Linked DNA regions of Homo sapiens: region 2 is linked to region 1. Evidence: promoter capture Hi-C in human tissues and cell types (Jung and others, 2019). All regions are on one chromosome and are shown on one strand. Each heading gives the region's core, a stretch centred on a gene start or on the middle of the fragment in contact. The rest is flanking DNA. Distances are from core to core; before and after follow the strand shown. Region 1 holds the start of KRT32 (keratin 32). Region 2 overlaps LOC105371775 (a long non-coding RNA gene).

Region 1 (7,242 bases), core at 60-2,559:
CCCCCGACTGAACTCACTTGGCCCTGAAGTCATCGGCAGCCAGTTTGGCATTATCAATGTTCACAACCATCCTGGCATTCTCTGCCTTGGTACACAGAATCTGTAGGCCAAGGCACATGGAGAGGGTTAGTTCAGGATGAGACGAAGCAAGAAGAACCCAAATGAAGAGAAGACAGCAGCAAAGGTAGGATCCAGCAGCCCTGCAGCCATCCCTGCAGAAGGTCCTCTTCCCTGGAACTCTGGGAGATATTTAGCGAATTGCTAGTCCTTGGAGAACTTGAGATGTATTTTTTAAGAACCTGAAGCTTCGTAAATTCAAATTCCCCATTTTGGATGTGCCAAGCAATGTGGAAGGGAAGAATCTCATGTCTGAAGTCACTCATGTGACAGTTAGAAGGGTCTTTGACATTTACTGAAAACTTACCGTGGACCAGGGGCTGTTCCAAGCACTTGACCTGCATCATCTCATCAAATCCTTTTGACAACCCCATTAGATAACGACCATTATTATCCCTGTTTTACAGATGAGAAAACTGAGGCCTGGGGAAGGGATGGGACCCCCAAAGTCATGCAATGAGGCAATGGTAGAACTGAGACTAGATCCCAGATCTCTCCACATGAAAGCCTCAGGCTGAGTGCTCAAATTATAAAATAACCCTATGCCCTAGGGAAGTCTCTTTGTCCTGAACATAGCTTAATAAGCTAACGAGATTCCAATCTGGAATGCCAGCTAGTCCAGTTCCCTTCCCAGAGAGCCTATTCACCTCACCGCTGCCCTCACCTTCTGCTGGAGCTCCTCAATGGTCCTGAAATGAGACTGGTAGTCAGGAGTCATGGTGAGCACCTGGGAGTGAGAGGCCTCTTGGATCCTGCTCTCCAGCTCCGCATTCTCCTGCTCCAGCTGCCGCACCCTCGTCAGGTAGCTGGCCAGGCGGTCGTTAAGGAACTGCATGGTTTCCTTCTCATTGCCATTGAAGGCCCCTTCGCTGTACCAGCTGCCGGGGCCCATGGAGCCGGAGATGCCACTGGCTGCCTGGCAGGAACTGGATAGATAGGTTTTGGAGAGGCAGCTGGCTGGCCGGAAGGTGGTGGGCAGGCAGACCGAAGGCAGGCATGCCATGGGCTGGCAGACATAGCCCAGGCACAGCTCAGGCCGGCAGTTCACGCCGCTGGAACAGACCGAGGCAGGCCGGGGGCAGCTCTTGAGAGAGGCTTGCAAGTTGTTGGTGACACAGCAGGAGGATGTCATGTTGGAGAGGCCCTTTCTCCTCAGCCACAGCTACCTGGATGTCTACAGACCCCATGCCGCCCGGGCCATTTTATGCCCTTGCAGTGAGGGGGCTCATGATAGAAATTCATCATTGGGTGGTGTTGATGTTCACACCCAGCCCCAGAGGAAGCTGCTAATTAATTTGTAATTTGGTTTCCAATAAAAGAGGCCAAACTTATCATTTGGCTAAAGCAGGAGTCTGGGTTCCTGTCATTGATCACCATGAGAGAGCTTCAGGACACATCTTCAAAGGGTCAGCCGCATGCCTGGGCCCTCATTACTAGGGCAGGCCCTCCAGGAGACTGCCACAACCCAGCCTGTGCCTCCACTGGCTTTGCCCACTGCACCCCCGCCTGCTCTAGCCCTGAGAAGCCTGCAGGTCTGTGCAGCAGTGGCTGCCTCTTTTAATGAAAGCATTCCCCATGGGAAGAGGCCTGGCTATTTAACAAGGAAATGTGTGGGTGGTAGAAACTGCTCCGATGCTGGCAGCGGCATAAATCCAGCAGAAAGGAACAGGAACCTCAGAGGCTTCCTAACAGACATCATCTTCCTGCCAAGGGGAAGAAAATAATATCAGTGGGGAGAGAATGAACTCAAGACATAGGCAGCATCACTTCTCAGCCTTTTGGCTAAGATCAAGTGTGGTATCTGTTCTTATCGTCTTAATATCTGATACGTCCTCCATCTGAGGACAACATATTAAATGGATTTTGGGAGCAGGGAGATGGAATAAGAGCTTGCTCTGTTCACTCTACATGTTGACCTGGTATTGCAGTACCTCCAGGAATGCTGCACCCCTTCAAAAGGCAAAAAAAAAAAAAAAAAAAAGACCCAAACAGAAGCCTAAGAATCAGGTACATCTTTCCAGTTGGTCTCTTCCTCTTGGAAAAGTCCATATCATGAACATCTCCAGGTGGCAGCTGCTCTGTCTTGACCCCCTCTGGACCATCCATTCAATTATCACTGCACCATATACACAATTGTCAAGTGCTCAATAATTGTTTGTTGAACAGACTGAGAATAGTTGGAACAGGTTCTACTTTTACTTTCTGTTGTGGCAGATGGGGAAGGCTCACTTCAGGATCTCAGACTATGGAAGCAGTGTGAATCCACTCCCTTGGGAAAGGATGTTCTATAGCCCTGGAATGAGCTAAGCCAGGAGACAGGGAGCATATTTGCCCAACTATAGAAGCCCTGGGCATTCACTTAAGAAGGCAACATGCTAGAGCAGTGGTTTTCAGTCCTGGCTGCAAAAGCTGTGAGCTTCACATTTAGTATGTGTGTGCTATATAGCCACTTTTTTATTCAGTAATCTTCTTGATATAATTTTGGGGTATAAGTACTTGCCTTATGTTTCACATATTCCCAGAAATGTCAGTACAAGAACAGGAAAGGGAAAATGCCACCCAGCTCATTCATTGCATAAGAAAAGGAGAGCGTAGATATACTGCCTCTGACTTGCCATTTGGCCTTGGGAAAGTAATTTTGTCTCTCCAGACCTCAGTTTCTTCATGCCAATCGAGGGGGTCAGATCAAATACTCTCACAATTTGATTCTCTGCAACAACTACAAATTCCAGTACCTTGTCTGGATTACCTATTTAGAGAAGATTATAGCATCAGATGGAAGGAGGTGTGATGGCAATACCAACTACAAGGGATGAGACTCATCAGGCCACCCTTCAGAATCATAGCCAGCACTTGTGGAATGTATACAAATACCAGGCATGGTGCTGAGTGCTTGGCATTAATTTGCCCATTTAATCCTCTCACCCAAAAACTATAATTATTATAATAAGGTGTTATCAGTCACTCTCAGCATCAACCTGACTCAGGAACATGTTAGAAATGTGAGTTTTCACCCTAGAAGAAAGTCTAGGCAATACCATTCAGGACATAGGCATGGGCAAAGACTTCATGACTAAAACAGCAAAAGCAATTGCAACAAAAGCCAAAGTTGACAAATGGGATCTAATTCAACTAAAGAGCTTCTGCACAGCAAAAGAAACTGTTATCAGAGTCAGCAGGCAACCTATAGAATTGGAGAAAATTTTTGCAATCTACCCATCTGACAAAGGTCTAATATCCAGAATCTACAAGGAGCTTAAACAAATTTACAAGAAAATAACAAACAACCCCATCAAAAAGTGGGCAAAGGATATGAACAGGCACTTCTCAAAAGAAGACATTTATGTGGCCAAGAAACATATGAAAAAAAGCTCATCATCACTGGTCATTAGAGAAATGCAAATCAAAACCACAATGAGATACCATCTCATGCCAGTTAGAATGGTGATCATTAACAAGTCTGGTAACAACAGATGCTGGCAAGGCTGTGGAGAAATGGGAAAGCTTTTACACTGTTGGTGGGAGTGTAAATTAGTTCAACCATTGTGGAAGACAGCATGGTGATTCCTCAATGATCTAAAACCAGAAATACCATTTGACCCAGCAATCCCATTACTGGGTATATACCCAAAGGATTATAAATCTTTCTACTATAAAGACACATGCACAAGTATGTTTATTGCAGCACTATTTACAATAGCAAAGACTTGGAACCAACCCAAATGCCCATCAATGACAGACTGGATAAAGAAAATGTGGCACATATATACCATGAAATACTATGCAGCCATAAAAAAGAATGAGTTCGTGTCTTTTGCAGGGACATGGATGAAGCTGGAAACCATCATTCTTAGCAAACCAACACAGGAACAGAAAACCGAACACCACATGTTCTCACTCATAAGTGGGAGTTGAACAATGAGAACACATGGACACAGGGAGGGGAACATCACACACCAGGGCCTGTCGGGGGATGGGGGGCAAGGGGAGAGAGAGCATTAGAACAAATACCTAATGCATGCGGGGCTTAAAACCTAGATGATGGGTTGATAGGTGCAGCAAACCACCATGGCACATGTATACCTATGCAACAAACCTGCACATTCTGCAAATGCATCCCAGAACTTAAAGTAAAATTTTTAAAAAAAAGAGTGTGATGTTCCCCTTCCTGTGTCCATGTGTTCTCATTTGTTGTGGGGTGGGGGGACGGGGGAGAGATAGCATTGGGAGATATACCTAATGCTAGATGACGAGTTAGTGGGTGCAGCACACCAGCATGGCACATGTATACATATGTAACTAACCTGCACATTGTGCACATGTACCCTAAAACTTAAAGTATAATAACAATAAAGAAAGAAAGAAGGCATAGATGTTGCAGTTTTTAAATATTTGCTATTTAATGTTGTTTTATTTAAACAATGTAGATACACTGCTTTGATAAAAATAAAAATAAAATGTAAAAAAAAAAGAAATGCAGTTTTTCAGGCTCATCCCAGACTGGCTGAATCAGAAACTCTGAGGCTGGGGCTGGGATGCAGCAGCCTGTGTTTAGCATGTCCTTCAGGTGGTTTGGAGACCCACTGAGATAGAGGAAGATACAGGCATACCTCAGAGATAGTGCATGTTCAGTTCTAGACCACCACAATAAAGCAAATGTAACCATAAAGTGAGTCACACAAACTTTTTGGTTTTTCTGTGTATGTAAACATTATATTTACACTATACTATAGTCTATTAAGTGTACCATAGCATTATGGCCTAAAAACAATGTATATAACTTAATTTTAAAAATGCTTTATTGCTAAAAATGCTAAGGATCATCTGAGCCTTCAGCAAGTTATAATCTTTTTGCTGGTGGAAGGTCTTGCCTCAATGTTGATGGCTGAGGACTGATCAGGGTGATGATTGCTGCAAGTTAGTGTGGCTGTGGCAATTTCTGAAAATGAGACATCAGTGAAGTTTGCCGCATCAGTTGACTCTTCCTTTCATGAAAGATTTCCCTGTAGCATGTGATGCTGTTTGATAGCATTTTAACAGTAGAAATTCTTTCAAAACTAGGGTCAGTCCTCTCAAACCCTGCCACTGCCTTATTAACTAAATTGATGTAGTATTCCAAATCCTTTGTTGCCATTTCAGTGATGTTCACAGCATCTTCACCAGGAGTAGTTTCCATCTCAAGAAACCACTTTCTTTGTTCATGAATAAGAAGCAGTTCCTCATCCGTTCGTTTTGCCATAACATGGCAACAATTCAGTCACATCTTCAGGCTCCAATTCTAATTTTAATTCTCTTGCTGTTTCCAACACATCTATAGTTACTTCCTCTGCTGAAGTCTTAAGCCCCTCAACATCATACATGAGAGTTGGAATCAACTTCTTCCAAACTCCTGTTAATGTTGATATTTTGACCTCCTCTCTTGAATCACAAATATTGACATATAGAATAGTGAATCCTCTTCAGAAGGTTTTCAATTTACTTTGCCCAGATCCATCAGAGGAATCACTCTGTATGGCAGCTATAGCCTTATGAAATATATTTCTTAGGTAATAAGACTTGAAAGTCAAAATTAGTTTTTGATCCATGGGCTGTGGAATGGATGTTGTGTTGGCAAACACAAAAACATTAATCTCCTTGGACAGCTCCATCAGGGCTCTTGGGTGATCAGATGCATTGTCAATGAGCAGAAATATTTTGAAAGAAACCTTTTATTCTAAGCAGTAGGTCTCAACAGTGGGCTTAAAATATTCAGTAAACCATGTTATAAACAGATGCACTGTCGTCCAGGCTTTGTCGTTCCGTTTGTAGTGCACAGGCAGAAAAGATTTAGCATCATTCTTAAGTGCCCTAGGATATTCAGAATGGTAAATGAGCATTGACTTCCCACTTGAAGTCATCAGCTGCATTAGCTCCTAGCAAGAGAGTCAGCCCATCCTTTGAAGGTTTTGAAGGCAGACTCCTCCTGTCTAGCTATGAAAGATGCCGCCTCCCTAAACTTCATCATTTCTAGCTTTTTATTTAAAGGGAGAAACCTGCAACTTTTCCTTTCACTTGAACTCTTAGAAGCCACGGTAGGGTTATTAATTGGCCTAATTTCAATATTGCTGTGTCTCAGAAAATAGGTAGACCCAAAATAGGGAGAGAGATGGGGGAATGGCCAGTTGGTGGAGCCATCAGAACGCACGCAACGTTTATCAGTTAGGTTCCCCATCTTATCTGGGCATGGTTTGGTGCATCCCAGAACAATTACAACAGTAATATCAAAGATTACTGACCACAGATCACCATAACACATACAATAATGAAAAAGTTTGGCCAGCCGCAGTGGCTCACACCTGTAATCCCAGCACTTTGGGAGGCTGAGGTGGGCAGATCACTTGAGGTCAAGAGTTCGAGACCAGCCTGGCCAACATGACGAAACCCCATCTCTACTGAAATTACAAAAATTAGCCAGGCGTGGTGTGCCTGTAATCCCAGCTACTTGGGAGGCTGAGGCACGAGAATTGCTTGAACCCAGGAGGCAGAGGTTGCAGTGAGCCGAGATCACGCCACTGCACTCCAGCCTGGGCAGACAGCCAGATTCTGTCTCAAAAAAAAAGAAAAAGAAAAAATTTGTATTGTGAGAATTACCAAAATGTGACACAGAGACACATAAGCACATGCTGTTGGAAAAATTAGCACCAACAGACTTGCTCTAGGCAGGATTGGCACAAAACTTTAATTTGTAAAAAAAAAAAAAAAAAAAGAAAGAAAAAAGAAAAAAAAACGATATCTGGGAAGTATAATAAATTGAAACTCAATAAATCGAAGTGTGCCTGCATATATTTTAACAGCTGTCACCAGAATTCATCTTGCAGGAAAAAAAATGTCTTTACTTGGGAAACTACATTAAGAAGATCTTGGGTTAAAAGGTGGGACCCTAATGCCTTGATTTGGCTGGTAAGACATCAGAGGGTGAAAGGAGAGAAGGATTTGAAGTTCACAGGACAATCCTGGAAGGAAGGAATGAGGAGGAGAGAGACAGGAACCAGGAGCAGGGGCTCCAGGATGATGCTGAGAGGCTGTCGCTGTGAGGTGCAGTCCCAAATGCCAGCGTGAGCAGAGTTTTCCGTTGTGAAGGAAAGA
Region 2 (7,309 bases), core at 161-2,660, 790 kb before region 1:
GCTGCTTCCTGTTCATGTTAATACTTGGTATAGTCTTTTTAATTTCCACTTGCTGGTGGGTGTAAAATGCTATAATATTGGAGCTTTAATTCACAGCTTCATGAGTTTTTTACTGGCCTCTTTGGCCCATATTGAATTATTATCTGTGAGTTCCCAGGCACTTATCATCTGTGCTACTTACTACTTTTAGTTCTATGTGACATTCTGATGCCATTGAATTATTTCAAGAGTATCTCCCACATCTCCAGATGGGCTGTACCTTCTAGAAGGGAATATTTGTCTCTTATTGTTTACTGTCTGGAGTCTGGAGTGCTTAGCCAAGCACTGGACCCAAATTGATTGCTTCAGACCAGAGCTAAAAACTGCAAGGTTAGACCTTCTGAATTAGAAGTGTACTCATTTTTGTTAAGTCCACAAAGATTAAAAAATTCCAAAATGTAGATGGGTGCATTCACATGACATTACTGAAGATGAGCAAAAACATTCCCTAAATATCCTGCTGGCTTTTATTTTTCCTAGTGTAAAAAGATGAGTATTGTTGAAATACATTCCCTTGTCTTCATGGCTTTTGCAAAGTTTCACTCTATACATTGCTTCAGTTATCCAATATACGTGACCAAGGTTAAATGGTTCTTGGTGCTTTATTTGTCTTAGTTTTTGTGGCTAGCTTGTGTGGTGCTCCTTAAACTGGTCTTTGGTGAACACCTCTTATTTGTGATAAAACAACAATGCCATCAATCAGTTCTTTAACAATTGTGTTGTGCCAAAACATTTCGTTGGTTCTGCGAAAAGAAAGTGTTAGGTCAATTACATATTGATGGAAATAAAGTAAATTGATAAAGCATTTCTCTTTAATCAAAAGTAAGACAGCTTTCGTATTGGGTACTTATTAACTTTTCTACCTACTTTCAACAGTGAGAAAGATAAGCATATAAATCTCATTGATTTTAATCTTTGCTTTTCTAAAGCTTCACAAATTTGGAGTGACTTTGATAAAATTCAGTCAGAATTGTAGTTAATACTTTATGTTAGCTACATGTTTGCATATATTTTTCCTTCTAGACTGTAAATTCTCCGAGAGAGGGACCACATCTTTGTATCTCCAACACTTAACACAGGTGTTTATTAAAGGCATAACATGATCTACAACCACATCAGTAGCACAGACGAATCGCGCACACGGCGTGTTGAGGGAAAGAAGCCAGACACGAAAAAGAACATACTGCTTGATTCAGGGTTTGAATCCTAACTCTTCCCAAGTTACTGTATAACTTGGGAAAATTATAGTGTCCTTATCTGTAAACTGGGGATAATAATAGTACTCACTTCATAAAGTGTTGAGAGGATGAAAAATGGGAATGAGATTATCACTTGGAATTTTGGAACCTCAAAAGGTTTGATCCTGGCTTACTCTGTCCCAGATGAGCTTTGTGATCATGGGTGAGCTATTTAACCTCGCTGAACTTCAGTTTCCTCATCTATGCAATGGGGATCATGCCCCATCTACAGAATTGCTGTGGGAATTATGTTTACATAGTGGGTGCTCCAAAAATGGTAGTTGTCTTTGTTATCATTGTTATAATACAGCAAGTCCTATGTAGAGAGGCATTGCAATGATATAGGCAAGAAAGTGGCATATGGTGAAATCATAGTGAAATTAGCTCAACAAACGATGAAGGGTTTGAATTCTTCTAGGAATGCCAGTGAATTCTCAGTCATAGAGAAGGAAGTGACATCAAGAACAATAGCAAACAGATTCACAATCCCTTTCTCTTTCTTTCTTTCTTTCTTTCTTTCTTTCTTTCTTTCTTTCTTTCTTTCTTTCTTTCTTTCTTTCAATGGAGTCTCACTCTGTCACTCAGGCTGGAGTGCAGTGGTGTGATCTCGGCTCACTGCAACCTCCTCCTCCAGAGTTCAAGTGATTCTCCTGCCTCAGCCTCCCGAGTAGCTGGGATTACAGGCATGCACCACCATGCCCAGCTAATTTTTGTATTTTTAATAGAGACGAGGTTTCACTATGTTGGCTAGGCTGGTCTCGAACTCCTGACCTCAGGTGATCCACCTGCCTTGGCCTCCCAAAGTGCTGGGATTACAGGCATGAGCCACCACGCTTGGCCCACAATCCATTTCATACAATTAAGTTCAAGTAAAAACTGAAAGGAAAAATAAAGAAAACTCTATAGTAAAGGCTGTAACTTTTCCCACTGCAAGCCACAAGAACAAAGGCATCATTTTACATCATGGCCCAGTACACCTGTAATCCCAGCTTCTTGGGAGGCTGAGGCATGAGAATGGCTTGAACCTCGGAGGCAGAGGTTGCAGTAAGCAGAGATTGCACCACTGCACTCCAGCCTGGGTGACAGAGTGAGACCTTGTCTCAAAAATAAATACATACATACATACATACATACACACATACATAAGTAAATGGATCGCAGCCTGCAGCTTGAAAAACACTGCCTTAAACTAACCTACAAGTTGAAACCTTCTTGTTTAATTAACTTTTTGTCTTCAATTATGCATCTTTCTTCAGTCTATCTCCTTTCCTTCTTCACCTCCTTTGACCTTTCAAAGAAAATATGGATTAAAATGCATTTCCACCTTTTGATTTTGAGGTGAACGATGTTGAAGGAAAGCCATTTAAATGTGATATAGCAATAGCTTCTAAGATATTTATTACTGTTTATTTAGGTGTAAGTTGAAAGAAAAAAAATTACAATGCTATTTTGACAAATGTCTCAGTAAAAGTATTCCACAACCAGAGTCTTGATTTTATGACTCTAACTGGGTAATACAAACATTGGATTCATATAAAAACAACACTTTTAGACTTTGGAGTACGCTGTTCCTCTGAAGAAAATGAAATAGAATAATAGAAAACTTGTATTTAGAACTTATCCTTGATTTTATTTCCTCTTTTTGATCCAGTTTCAAACTTATGACTGAAAAGAAAAATAGGATAGTCTTATACTCTGGTTTTGATTGTTGTAGGTATCATAAAAATTGTAATATCTGAGATTTTTTTTTTTAAAAAGCTCTATGTTGAAGTCTTTGAATTTTAGCTTTTTCTATGTTTTATTCGTTCTGTTTTTGAATTACACCACCCTAAATGACTATTTATCATCTAATATGTTGGATATAATACACTTGTTTCCACAGACGGTCTGGCAGAACAACAGTTCTGCCTAAATTTCAATTCAGGTGGGCAAACATTTGTGGTGCACCTTGTAGCCGGTGGTAATGCATGGACTAGGGGCTGGGTTCATAAATCGAGGCCGTGGTCATTGCTTTCCTAGAGCTGGAATGGGGCATTGAAAATTGTCCTTACTGGTGGCTCACACCTGTAATCCCAGCACTTTGGGAGGCCGAGGCGGGTGGATCACTTGAGGTCAGGAGTTCGAGACCAGCCTGGCCAACATGGCGGAACCCTGCCTCTACTAAAAATACAAAAAATTAGCTGTGTGTGGTAGTGCGCACCTTTGGTCCCAGTTACTTGGGAAGCTGAGGCACAAGAATCACTTGAACCGGGAGGTGGAGGTTGCAGTGAGCGGAGATCGCACCACTGCACTCCAGCCTGGGTGACAGAGTGAGACTCTGTCTCAAAAAATTAAAAAAAAATTATCCTTACTGAATGAACCCTGTGGAGGTTGTTCAGCCCTGGTTGTATGTCCTTGTTGCGGTTAGCTAAAAATGTAAATAGGAGTCATTGAGACCTATACGTGCCCCAGTCCTAACTACTCTCCTTCTTTACCATACCCACAGCTTCTTGCAGACCAGCTCAGCCCTGTGAGCAGGCAGTGGTTGGTCCCAGCTTCATTCACCAGGCACGCCTTGACCTTCAGCAGCTGCATTTAGCCTGGCTCTGGTCCTTGGTCTTGCAATGCCCTTGAAGGAGCTGGGTCTCCAGGCACTAACCTCTACCTGAGGCTGGCGCTTGGCCTTTGATTCCATCAGCTTGGCTTTGAGGGCTGTTTTCTGAGAGTGGAGCGAAGATTGCCTAAGAGAAGAGATGAAATAAAGAGTCATTTGGGTAGATTAGCATCAGAAAGTTTTCCTATTCTCTCTGCAGGAAGGGAATATACACTGGATGGATGTTACTGTCTCATCTTCTAACCTCTTCTCTTTCAAGTAAAACAGAGATAATCTTCTATGCAGATGCTGTGTTTTAAGAGGGCGAGGTTTTGATTTAACTGGAAGGAAAGTATCTCAGGATGCCTGTCTTCTGTACCTAGTGCATCCCTATGGTGTAGGAAAATCCTGCTTTCTTAAGGTAGAGCAGTGATTTTCAGGTGATTTTGTGCCTCCCTTCCACTCTCATTTGGCAATATTTGGAGACATTTTTGGCTGACATAATAAGGGGTAGGGGGTGTACTATTGGTACCTACTAGGTAGAGGCCATAAACTTCCATAAACCCACAGGACAGCTCCCCAAGAATTATCCAACCAAAAATGTCTAGAGTGCCAAGGTTGAGACACTCTGCCTTAAAACCTGACATTTGGATGTTAGGCATTTCAAAAGTTTCAGGAAACTGCTTGAATTAGGGTGAATCTGATCTAATTTTAATTCCCTGTAACATTAATTCTGCCACTTTGATTTTTTTTTTAATTCAAACAGTTTCTATTTGCAGAGTCATAGATTTTAGAGCTAGACGATAAGTACCTTAGTAATCACCAACTCCCTTGCTTTGCAGAAAAAAATGAGGCTTAGAGATAGATACTTTTAGAGGAATGACTTATCTAAGGTTACATGGTGAGCTTTGAGACAACCTAAGACTGAGACTCAGGCCTACCAAGTCAATGAAAAATACAGCAACTTCCTTATGTATTATTAGTTTGATCAAAGTTTCCCTATGGCTAAAGTGTAATTCCCAGAAGATAAAGATGCTGCTGCCATCCTTGTTCCTATTTTGCTTCTCCTGAAACATTGGACACTTAATAAATTCTTATCATGAATGCTCCTAAGTGAAAAATTGATTTTAAAAGTGACACATAGCTATTCAAGTTTGTTTATTTATTTATTTATTCTTTGAGACAGAGTCTTGTCCTGTTGCCCAGGCTGCGATGCATTGGCGCGATCTCAGTTCACTGCAACCTCCACCTCCTGGGTTCAAGTGATTTTCCTGCCTCAGCCTCCCAAGTAGCTGGGATTACAGGCATCACCACCAAGCCTGGGTAATTTTTGTATTTTTAGTAGAGACAGGGTTTTGCCATGGTGGCCAGGCTGTTCTTGAACTCCTGACCTCAGGTGATCTGCCTCCCTCGGCCTCCCAATGTGCTGGGATTATAGAAGAGAGCCACAGCGCCCAGCCTGTTATTCAAGTTTAAATATGTTAAATCGTCTTAAAAAGGAGCATATATACTTCTTGATATTCAATGAAATCCTAGCTGACCTATACGCAGGAATTTTATCTAGATTAATTCTTTTAAGCTTTCAGCCAGGAGCCCTGCCTAATCACCTACCTGGAGAGAGAAACAGTGATCTCATTCTGAACGTGGGCCAACATTTCCCTAACAGCAAGTTCATGCTGACATTTGTGGTATCTCAGCTAATTCAGTGGCTGTCGTGTTTGCAAAATAGGGCCTGACATGTGCAGTTAATAATTTTGTTTCCAGGTGTTTTTCACACATTAAATGGAAATTTTCCTGTCCAAGTTACTAATTGGAAAAGCCCAAGATTTTGGCTTTTTCTTAAGAACCCTAAAAAAAACCCTTTTTAAAGGGAATATCATGTTTTGGAAACATATTGCTGAGAATTTATGTGAAATCGTGCAGTTGTCTGTGTGGGCAATTGGTTTATGGTGTTTTCACCCAGGGAAAGATTTTTTTTGTTTGTTTTTGTTTTGAGACGGAGTTTCGCTCTTGTTGGCCAGGCTGGAGGGCAGTGGCGTGATCTTGGCTCACTGCAGCCTCTGCCTCCTGGGTTCAAGCAATTCTCCTGCCTCAGCCTCCTGAGTAGCTGGGATTACAGGCATGCACCACCACGCCTGGCTAATTTTGTATTTTTTTAGTAGAGATGGAGTTTCTCCATGTTGGTCAGGCTGGTCTCGAGCTCCCAACCTCGAGTGATCTGCCTGCCTCGGCCTCCCAAAGTGCTGGGAATACAGGTGTGAGCCACCGCGCTGGGCCCCACTCAGGGAGAGATTTTTATGTACCAAGTCTACTGTAGACTGTAGTTCAATCTCCAGGGCCTACAAGGCTGGCTCCTGTACATTCGTCTCAGTCTTAGCAGAATTGGATGCAGCAGCGGCAACCTGCCGTTGCAGCATTCTTTTCTGAAATACCAAAATAAAAACAGAGTCATTTATCAGTGAAGCGAAATTGTCCTAGATTTATTGACCTTGGCTGTGTTTTTTGTTTACTTTATTGTTGAATCTAATTTCAGCATCTTGGTGATTGTGATTGGCCATGGCTTCATAGTGCATTCTCATGTCATGAGGAGCTGTGTTAGATCAGCTCCAGGTGGGCTGACCCATTCCACCTGCAACTCAGAGCCTGCAACAGCTGGCTGGCCTTTAATTTCCTGAATTGGAAACAACCCTCGCTCAAGGAATTCGGCCATTATGGTAAGAAAATAACTTCATTTATTAGAATTTTCCTTCACCTCATCAGACTCAAATTGAAGGCAGGAATTATGTAAGAAAGAGGAAAGTTACGACGTGCTGTATGGGCACATACCTCTTCCTGGTTCTTTTTGAGATGAGTGAACTCCTCCGCCGGGTTTCAATCTGCATTTCTAGATCATCTTGGACAAAGTCATGTCATTCCGGACTTGGTGCAGACTGTTGATGTCAGCTTGACGCTCCAGCGCAGGGTCAGTTCAATCTCAAACCTGGAAAAAGTTTCTAATGCTTTCAGTGGTCGTTAGGTTTGTATTATTAATATCATGCTGCATTTTAAATATTTTATTAGAATATTATAGAAATGCCAAACGTCTGTTCCTTATTTGTTGTTAATATAATTTGCTATTAACTTTCCCCATTTTTGGCAGTATGATGGCACTCCATATAAAATGCTGCAAGCTTCGGGGAAGAACCTTTTCAGCATTTTTGTTTCTTAGAACAGAGTGACCATACCTTGTTGGCCTCTTGTGTGTTGGGGTCTTCTACACACACATAAAGTAGGGAGTTAAATTAAAGAATCCTCAGAAACACATGCTGGTTCTTTTCAGAAATCTCACTTGAAATATACCTAACTAGAAATTCTTACTTACGGAAGAAAATTAAGTGGTGGTTCCTTCGGACGTAGAATCAGCACAGCATTCTCGTAAATAATGTGCTTCCCTGAGGTTTTTAACTAAAATATTTTTCCA

The links. Contacts are between HindIII fragments. The study calls those that stand out against the background at their distance.
Region 2: a fragment that was not itself captured here is called in contact with the fragment with the promoter of KRT32 in region 1 in 1 of the 25 tissues and cell types used here (lymphoblastoid cells).

The regions. Positions count from the first base shown.
Region 1 is chr17:41,466,077-41,473,318 of GRCh38, forward strand. It overlaps KRT32 (keratin 32), which reads right to left and starts at 1,310. Exons shown (of 7, transcript NM_002278.3): 1 at 782-1,310; 2 at 18-100. The coding sequence starts at 1,249. It also overlaps the pseudogene RNU2-32P. The HindIII fragment of the contact is 5,955 bases long and covers 1-1,963 here.
Region 2 is chr17:40,680,874-40,688,182 of GRCh38, forward strand. It overlaps LOC105371775 (a long non-coding RNA gene), which reads left to right. Exons shown (of 4, transcript XR_934751.2): 2 at 6,383-6,563. It also overlaps the pseudogene KRT224P. Among named protein-coding and RNA genes, the nearest start is that of KRT24, 19 kb to the right of the region's middle. The HindIII fragment of the contact is 3,576 bases long and covers 1-3,198 here.